Linked DNA regions of Homo sapiens: region 1 is linked to region 2. The links are contacts of gene promoters, found by promoter capture Hi-C in blood cells and fetal thymus (Javierre and others, 2016). All regions are on one chromosome and are shown on one strand. Each heading gives the region's core, a stretch centred on a gene start or on the middle of the fragment in contact. The rest is flanking DNA. Distances are from core to core; before and after follow the strand shown. Region 1 holds the start of ASH2L (ASH2 like, histone lysine methyltransferase complex subunit). Region 2 overlaps LSM1 (LSM1 homolog, mRNA degradation associated).

Region 1 (4,763 bases), core at 583-3,082, 64 kb before region 2:
TGGCTCGTGCCTATAGTCCCTGCTACTCAGGAGGCTAAGGCAGGAGGATTGCTTTACCCGGGGAACTTGAGGCGGCAGTGAGGTATGATGCCGCCACTGCTGCACTCCAGCCTGAGCGACAGTGCGAGACTCTGTCTCAGAAAAAAAAAAAAAAAACACACAGGTGAAACCCCGTCTCTACTAAAGATACAAAAATTAGCCAGGCGTCATGGCGCGTGCCTGTAATCCCAGCAACTCGGGAGGCTGAGGCAAGAGAATCGCTTGAACCCGAAACCGCGAGGTGGAGGTTGCAGTGAGCTGAGATCGCGCTACTGCACTCAGCCTGGGCGACAAACCGAGACTCCGTTTCAAAAAAAAAAAAAAAAAGCCGTGCGCGGTGGCTCACACCTGTAATCCCAGCACTTTGGGAGGCCCAGGTGGGTGGATCACTTGAGGTCAGGAGATCGACACCAGCCTGGCCAACATGGTGAAACCCCGCCTCTACTAACAAAAATTAGCCGGGCGTGGTGACAGATACCTGTAATCTCAGCTACTCGGGAGGCTGAGGTAGGAGAATCGCTTGAACCTGGGGTGGAGGTTGCAGTGAGCCGTGATCGGGCCACTGCGCTCCAGCCTGGGCGACAGAGCGAGACTCTGTCTCAAACAAACAACAACAAGAAAACACAAAATTCTGCGACCATATGTTAAAACTGCTACAATACTACGTATTTGGGAGGAGATACTTAGATCAAGCATCCTGCTTCTCTTTGGAGTACCAACCCCTGATTTAAGTATTTATCATCAATTTTAAAAATGTAACCTGGCAACTCAGTTAGGTCTTTCTTCAATTTTGTTGAAAACCAATAATTGAGAACCAATTGGGAAATCAATATCTACGTATTTCCCATGGCGTCCAGTGGCCCAGAGATTCCTACACTATCGGTGGACACATCACAGTAAGATTAGACTGAGGATTGGCGAGGGGTGCGCCGTTCTTGTGTAAAGCGGGAGAAGAGTGTATTATCGTTAGGCAACATTTTAGGATATAGGATAAACACTGGTGTCCTGAAAACGTTCCTGGCCGCAACACTCTCAGAGGTTTGCATTCTCGAGTTTGGAGACCATGGCTCTGAAAGACTCAACTCACTCCACTGATGCCAGCCACCAGCTACTGTTGATGACTTCCCAAGTTCGTACTTTCAGTCCACACCTCTTCCTTTCGCTGGGCACCAAACTTGTCTACATTCCGAGTGCCCCGGCACACCCCGGGGCTTCGCTTTCCGCCTCTCACAGTAGGAAGCGGCGAGCCGCTTCTAGTGCCCACGCCGCTCCTCGGCTGCCCGGCCTGGGTTTTCCACCCTCGCCCCTGGAATCGGCCTCCCTAGATTCCCTTCCCTCTTAAAATCATTTGGAAACGGGCTCCAAGGGGCGACCCTGCGCAGAAAACCAAATTCCATCCGGGGCGGGCAGGGAGTGCTAGACTCCAAGGAAGACGTTTCCCACATTCGGTGGTGAGGAGTGTTTGGCGGCACGGCACGGCCAGCGCTCTCAAGGACCCTCTTCTGCGCAGAATATCCAGTCGTAGCCACGAAAATACGCCGCGTCAGTCCCTGACTCGAAAGGAAGTCCTCCAGAGAGCCGCACTAACCATCTAGCTTCCTCCACCTTCAGCCTGCCAGGCCCGCGGCCACCGCCGGCGCGGGAGGCCGGCCCACCTCTGCCCGCGCGCCTGGCCTTAAAGCGGTCGTGGAATTATGCTTCCTCAGGCAGGCGGTGGACGCACCGCGGGCTTTTTCTGTTTGAAGACTACAGCGTCACACAGCAACGCGCGCGAGAGAAGAGAGTATTCTCGCGAGAAGTCCAGGGGTGGCCGTGATGGCGGCGGCAGGAGCAGGACCTGGCCAGGAAGCGGGTGCCGGGCCTGGCCCAGGAGCGGTCGCAAATGCAACAGGGGCAGAAGAGGGGGAGATGAAGCCGGTGGCAGCGGGAGCAGCCGCTCCTCCTGGAGAGGGGATCTCTGCTGCTCCGACAGTTGAGCCCAGTTCCGGGGAGGCTGAAGGCGGGTAAGAGGTCCTGCCGCCCGAGGAAGACGCGGGAGGGAGGCCCGCCCCTCGCGAATCCCGCGGCTCCTGGAGCCCTGCCGCCCGCCCCCTGCGAACCCAGGCCCCGCCGCCAATGGCTCGCCCTGCCTCTGCGCCGCTTGGCCCGTCCCCTCTCAAGCATATCTCGGATAACGCCCCTTCCGCACCTTTCACGGGCGGTGGGAGCTGAGGCTCCTGTCGTTATCTCTGATCCTTGCACCCTGGCAGGAAGCTGGTAGCTCACACTTTAACGGGAGGCCTTCACATATTCCAGAAAAGAAACCACTTTGCAGTGCCAGACTGGAAGAAGTAACGGTCACTCTGAAAACAGGGTGGGAGAGCTGCCTCTCTTTGAACCTCTCCCAGGACCAACTCTAACCCAGGTAGATTTGACTGTAAAGGCCGGTTAGGCTTCCCTGTGCTCCGTGGGTCCGCGACTGTCTGACATGTCCACCTTCTCAGTATCCTGACAGTACCTTGGGCATCCAGTCTGAGATCAGGCTTAGCTGAAAAAGCTGCAGGAGTATGAAGTTCGGCTGTAATTTGATCATCATTTTTGGGAATAGGCATTTTGAGGTTTGTCTTGAGAATTCTTACTTGAGCGCTTTCATTATCTTATAGGGAGGCAAACTTGGTCGATGTAAGCGGTGGCTTGGAGACAGAATCATCTAATGGAAAAGATACACTAGTAAGTATTTTTAGTTGTTTGCAAGACAAAATAGGGTTTGTTTTAGTTATTTCTTCTTCTTCTTTTTTTTTTTTTTTTGTTGCGACGGAGCCTTGCTCTGTCGCCCAGGCTGGAATGCAGTGGCGCGATCTCGGCTCACTGCAACCTCCTCCCCCCGGGTTCCAGCGATTCTCCTGCCTCAGCCTCCCGAGTATCTGGGATTACAGGCATCTGCCAACACACCTGGCTTCTTTTTTTTGTCTTTTTAGTAGAGACGGGGTTTCACCATGTTGGCCAGGCTGGTCTCGAACTCCTAACCTCAGTTGATTCTCCCGCCTCAGCCTCCCAGAGTGTTGGGATTACAGGCGTGAGCCACCGCGCCCGGCCTTGTTTTTACATTTTTAAGCGAATCAAAAATACATTCAGGCCAGGCACGGTGGCTCATGCCTGTAATCCCAGCACTTTGGGAGGCTGAGACCTCAGGATCACTTGAGACCAGCCTGGGCAACATAGGGAGACCCCCGTCTCTTAAAAAAATAAAATAAAGTAAAATACATTCAAGTCAACTGATTTGAGTCTCGAACTGCTCTGACACAGGAAGGTGCTGGGGATACATCAGAGGTGATGGATACTCAGGCGGGCTCCGTGGATGAAGAGAATGGCCGACAGTTGGGTGAGGTAGAGCTGCAATGTGGGATTTGTACAAAATGGTTCACGGCTGACACATTTGGCATAGATACCTCGTGAGTACTTTTCATAGTTTTTGTGAGAATTGCTCGGTAAAATAAATCTGAACATGCTCAACAGTTACTTTGTGGGCAAAATAAATGCAAAGTATTTCCTATGTCTCCTAACCCCTATTCAGCAAGTAGGATGTTGAATCAGGAGTTGTTTTAATTCCCTTAGCATGTTATCTGCTTACTGAGGGCACAGCTCTGGTAGATACAATGGTGGGTATTGCCCCTCCTTTTGAGTTGACAACCTGGTTTGGAGACAAAAAAAAATGCAATTACAAAGTGTTATATAAACAAATTTAGAACAATATAAACCTTGTGTTGGTGTTTTGGATTTTTCAGAAAGGATATATGTGGATAAAGCCTGTTGTCCAAAATTTGAGATGACCCATGCTCTTTATGCCTGAACCATCCTTTTTTTCCTTTCTCATTGCTGCTGACTCACTCCTTTAGGTATATTGTCTACTCTCCTCAGCAAACCTATTTCCAATCATGTACCTCTTCTAGTGAATTAAAATCATATTGTGATTGAGAATGAAAGACTTTTTTCCTTATACTGACTGTCTGTTGGAATAATTGTACTGCTCGCTCTCTGTAATGTTCTTTATGGTTTGTATTATGCTAATACATTTATAAAAGACTATCTAAACATAAGGCTGCATTATCGTGAAATTAATCCACCTTGGGTGAGATTGTGAAGAAATACATATATGTGTGTGTGTGTGTGTGTGTGTGTGTGTGTGTGTGTATATGTATATATATATACATATATATATGTTTTCTTGTTTTTTTCTTGCGACTGGGTCTCGCTCTGCTGCCCAGGCTGGAGTGCAATGGCAGGATCACAGCTTTCTGCAGCCTCGAACTTCTGAGCTCAAGGGATCCTCCTGCCTCACCCTTCCAAAGTGTTGGGATTACTGGCATGAGCCACCACACCCAGCTTTCCTTTATAATCTGTTGTATACTTTCTAGTTAAAAGGTTAAAGTGGGTTTTAGAAATGCTGATGTCTTAATTAACATGTGACTTGTGATTTAGGAAAGAGTGTTTTTAAAAAGAAAGAAAAATACTGAAGGATCAGGAAGAAATAATTGATCTTGGTAGCAACATCTGCTGGGAAAACACACTAGCTAAGCAAGCCTGGTCTCTTAGAGAGGCCTAAGATAGGGCCACTTTTGCCAGAAAAATTTGTTTGGATAGACAGTTTAGGAAAGGAAGTTTACTAGAGAGATAACTGGGAGGAATTCAAGGAAGAATCAAATCACAGTTCAAAGTTTTGGTAGCTTTGGAGACAACAGTTTGTA
Region 2 (4,746 bases), core at 1,648-4,147:
GCTGCTGTTGCTGCTTCTTCCCAACAGTCTTATTACTTAATGCTGTGTCATCATCATCGTCCTTGAGGCAGAATTCAGGGATTTCTTAACCAATATAGTGTTTACAGAAACTGATTTCTATGTATGAATTCCTCTGGGGTTGGTACATAATTTCTCCTGATTGCTGATTCACATAACAATGCAGGCATTCCTGGAACCAAGTTTCTGTAGTGGTACCCCTGTAAAACTTCTGCAGCATCCAAACCATAACATATTTTTTTAAAAAAGGGAACTTTTCCTCACAAAAGGGATCCAAGGAAACAATTAAACTTCAAGAACAAACACGTTCACCTCTTTCTCTGCACAAACACACACATCTACTTAGATGTAACTTTGTGCCAATGTAACCAGTATAAAAAGCATGTCTGCTATGTTTACTACTATAAAACAGAAGCATATCTGTGAATATTTTCTTGAGAAAGGGTCTTGCTCTGTTACCCAGGTTGGAGTGCAGTGGTACAATCATGGCTCACTGTAGCCTCGACCTCCCTGAGCTCAGGTGAATCTCCCACCTCAGCCTCCCAAGTAGCTGGGACTGGTGATGTGCACCATCACCCCTGGCTAATTTTTGTATTTTTTTGTAAAGACAGGGTTTGGCCATGTTGCCCAGGCTGGTCTCTTGCAGCTTAAGCGATCTGCCTGCCTCGGCCTCCCAAAGTACTGGGATTACAGACGTGAGCCACTGCACCCACCCCAGTATTTTAACTTAAGTTTTTTCCTCTGATACGTTGCCTCTTCAAAATTAAATTCAGAAAAGTATTTTTAAAAATCATCTATAACCCCACCATGCAGAGATGGGTCAGCTCCCCTATATACTGGCAGTATCAAGCACAGTGGCATGTACCTATAGTCCCGGCTACTTGGGAGGCTGAGACAGGAGGATTGCCTAAGCCTAGGAGTTTGAATCTAGCCTGGGCAACATAGTGAGACCCCATCTCTGGAAGAAAAAAAATACTGGCAGACTACTTTACAGTCATGTAGTGTCTCCCCATGGGTACCATGGTACTAGGTGCTTTCAGACTTTTTTTTTTTTTTGAGACGGAATCTTGCTCTGTCGCCCAGGCTGGAGTGCACTGGCACGATCTCGACTCACTGCAAGCTCCGCCTCCTGGGTTCATGCCATTCTCCTACCTCAGCCTCCCAAGTAGCTGGGACTACAGGCGCCCGCCACCACACCCGGCTAACTTTTTTGTATTTTAATAGGGATGGGGTTTCACTGTGTTAGCCAGGATGGTCTCGATCTCCTGACCTTGTGATCCGCCCGCCTCAGCCTCCCGAAGTGCTGGGATTACAGGCGTGAGGCACCGCACCTGGCCTTGTTTCAGCCTTTATGCGACACAAGAAGATAACAATTTCTGCTGCTTGGCTGGGCGCGGTGGCTCATGCCTGTAATCCCAGCACACTGGGAGGCCGAGGCGGGTAGATCGCCTGAGGTCAGGAGTTCGAGACCAGCCTGGCCAACATAGTGAAACCCCGTCTCTACTAAAAATACAAAAATTAGCTGGGCTTGGTTGCGGGCACCTGTAATCCCAGCTACTCGGGAGGCTGAGGCAGGAGAATCACTTGAACCTGGGAGGCGGAAGTTGCAGTGAGCTGAGATCATGCCATTGCACTCCAGCCTGGGCAACAGGAGCAAAACTCTGTCCCAAAAAAAAAAAAAAACCCAAAAAACAAAAAACAATTTCTGCTGCTTAAACATGCAAGAAATGATACACTGAACTAAAAGTACAAACTACAAAAATATTTTATAAGAAAAATTTTTATAAGTATTACTTATAAATATTTTATAAGTAAGAAAAAGCTATTTCATATATTTCACAGCATATATTTCATATATTCATATATTTCATATACTTCATATATTTCACTTGGGCAGTATTGATAGTCTGGATTAGTCATTTCTAGCTATTTCCAATATGAGGTCTCTGAACCAACCCAACCCTAGCAGAATTATCTCCTTGCTTTCTCAAATGGCTGTTAAAAATGGCTACAAACCAAACCACTCTAAAGATTTCTGCAAACTGATTTAAGACATGGCTAGGTATTTAGAAAACAGTATTAAAAACTTTAAAAATTAAGCAAACACCAAAGTTTTTGGTAAGAAAAAAGAAGACAGTGCTGGCTCAACCCTTAATTTCAACTACTCTTGAAGAGATTTTTATTTTCCTTGCAAACCCAATAATCAGAAATAACAAGATGAAATCAAAGGTTTTAAATAAGATACTTTAAAAAAAAATCTGAGTACTTCTAGTAGGGGTGTGTGTGTGTATGTCTGCACACACGAAGACCTACAGCAACAATACCTCAGAAAATCTGATTTAACCTTTCACCTGCCAGCTGGTCTTTCTGGCACAGATACCAAAATACCCTCTCCCTGGCTGTGAGCTAAGGATCCAAGTAAGACTGAACTCCATTCTCGGGATAGGTAACGGAAAAGCTTTTCCTATAGCTACTCTTTCCCTTTCCCCCTTTACTAATATGGATATCACATTGTACTGTACAGGCAATATGTACTTCCCTGAAATACTGTGCATTAGCTTTATGCCATGAAAAACCACTTGTAACCAATTGTTTAAATGACTGCAAAATATTCCAACGTATGTAAGACACACCTTCCCCAGCATATATAAATCAAGCTTTGTCAATTTTCTGCTATTAAACAAATATATTAATGAACACATTTGTTAAGGCACTGAAACAAAGTATTCTCTGTAGCTTCCCTAAATTAATTTGGTAGTTGCCTAGGAGAAGCCAGATAAATGTGGAGAATATTTTTATTCTCTTTTGAAAAGACAAAAAAAGAAGTCTAACTAGCATGAATATGAAGATCTACAGCAGCTTAATAGTTTTCACTTACTATTTCTCCTAGTAGGACCACATTTTCTCCTCTGACCACAAAAATCCCTCGAGGAATATCACCGTATTTTTTGCCCACATGAATACGCTCCACAGTCTGATGTAGCACTAAGTTTGCTGTAAGTGTATAGGGAAAAACCAAAGATATTTAGTTTAAACTACTGGGTAAAGGCCCATAACTCAATAATCAGTTATTTTGAAAAGATTTAGGTAAACATGATTTCCAAGCTTTCTAATTATTTTTATTTATTTATTTTTTGAGACCGAGTCTCGCTCTGTCACCCAGGCTGGACTGCAGTGGCGCCATCTCAGCTCACTGCAACCTCTGCCTACTGGTTCAAGCAATTCTCCTGCCTCAGATTCCGGAGTAGCTGGGACTACAGGTGCCTGCCACCACTCCCGGCTAATTCTGTATTTTTAGCAGAGACAGGGATCACCACATTGGCCAGGCTGGTCTTGAACTCCTGGCCTTGTGATCCGCCCACCTCGGCCTTCCAAAGTGCTGGGATTACAGGCGTGAGCCACAGTGCCGGGCCCCCAAGCTTTCTAATTCTGGGGAAGGCTAAAATTTCAAATAATCTTCTCCTATTTCATTGAGTAAGACGTACCAGTTAGGAGATGTCTGGGATTATGTTGGGCTAATACATGAATGACAGCAGAAATAAGAGAAATAAATTCCTTTATCAGTTAATTGCTAATACCAAAAAAAACCATAGGAAAATATAAATGAATAAGGAACTTGGAAAACTTGGGCCTAAACAACCACAGAGATCAAAACTTTTGTTTTCTGGAAAGAAACAGCTTTTCTTTTTGTGTGGGTGTGTATGTGATGATCTGCTGAAGATTCAACTTTCTTTTAGTAATTAGGATTCATTTGACCCAACGCAGGTATCCATGGGTTATGATACAGCAAAAACCTATTTTTTCACCTTGACAGATAACTATATTTGTAATCTAAAAGTCAACTTAATAGCCACTACCCTTCCCTCAAAGTACTCTGATGAATCTGACTTAAGAATCAGGACTCCAATTTGTTAACAATAATTATTTTTCCTCTTTCAATTAGTACTACTTGTCCTATTTGAAGTAAAGGAGAAATCTATGTTCATATCTTCCATAATCCTTTTAAGTGTTTTAATTACGTTTCTTCCTCATGCTCAAATCCAGTGATTTCGCAGATATCCAATAAATGTTAGCATGAACATGAAGTTCCTTGAAACAGAAGGAAACATAATCTTTTAACTTAAGAAAAATGCAGGATGCGAAACAAAGACAGAGGCCTCTTATTCCAATGTATCCCTATATGTAAAGTATTAAGCTTAATGTTGGGGTCCTTAAAATAAAGGAAATGCCTTCTACCCAATTTTCATTGGCTAGGGAGGGATTACCTTCACTTCCGGAACTGCTTTGAAGTCATTTTACCCTGCCAATGTAGAAATAAGCAGCCTTGGGCCGGGCACAATGGCTCGCGCCTATAATCTCAGCACTATGGGAGCTAAGACCAGCCTTCCAGCTGTCCCCACTGATGCACCAGACATGTGAGTGAAGCTCCTTCAAACCAGCTGACTCACCTTCTAGACACCAAGGGACTGTCCTAAAACCATGAGGAGCAGAACAACTGCCCAGCTCAGCTGGGTGGGTGGATCACCTAAGGTCAGGAGTTTGAAACCAGCCTGGCCAACATGGCGAAACCCCGTCTCTACTAAAAATACAAAAATTAGCTGGGGGTGGTGGCTGGAGCCTATAATCTCAGCTACTTGGGAGGCTGAGGCACAAGAATCACTTGAACCCAAGAGGCGGAGGTTGCAGTGAGCCAAGATTGTGCCACTGCACTCCAGCCTGGGTGACCGA

Evidence for each region. Contacts are between HindIII fragments. The CHiCAGO score rates a contact against its expected background, and 5 or more counts as called.
Region 1: the fragment with the promoter of ASH2L here is called in contact with a fragment that was not itself captured in region 2 in 3 of 17 cell types (erythroblasts, megakaryocytes and naive CD4 T cells); the score reaches 8.7 in erythroblasts.

Annotation. Positions count from the first base shown.
Region 1 is chr8:38,103,697-38,108,459 of GRCh38, forward strand. ASH2L (ASH2 like, histone lysine methyltransferase complex subunit) reads left to right here and starts at 1,833. Exons shown (of 16, transcript NM_004674.5): 1 at 1,833-2,042; 2 at 2,682-2,748; 3 at 3,325-3,470. The coding sequence starts at 1,855. RefSeq lists silencers at 1,601-1,690, 2,021-2,220 and an enhancer at 1,801-1,930. The HindIII fragment of the contact is 22,171 bases long and covers 1-4,763 here.
Region 2 is chr8:38,166,906-38,171,651 of GRCh38, forward strand. LSM1 (LSM1 homolog, mRNA degradation associated) reads right to left here. Exons shown (of 4, transcript NM_014462.3): 3 at 2,897-3,012. Among named protein-coding and RNA genes, the nearest start is that of LSM1, 7.2 kb to the right of the region's middle. The HindIII fragment of the contact is 448 bases long and covers 2,674-3,121 here.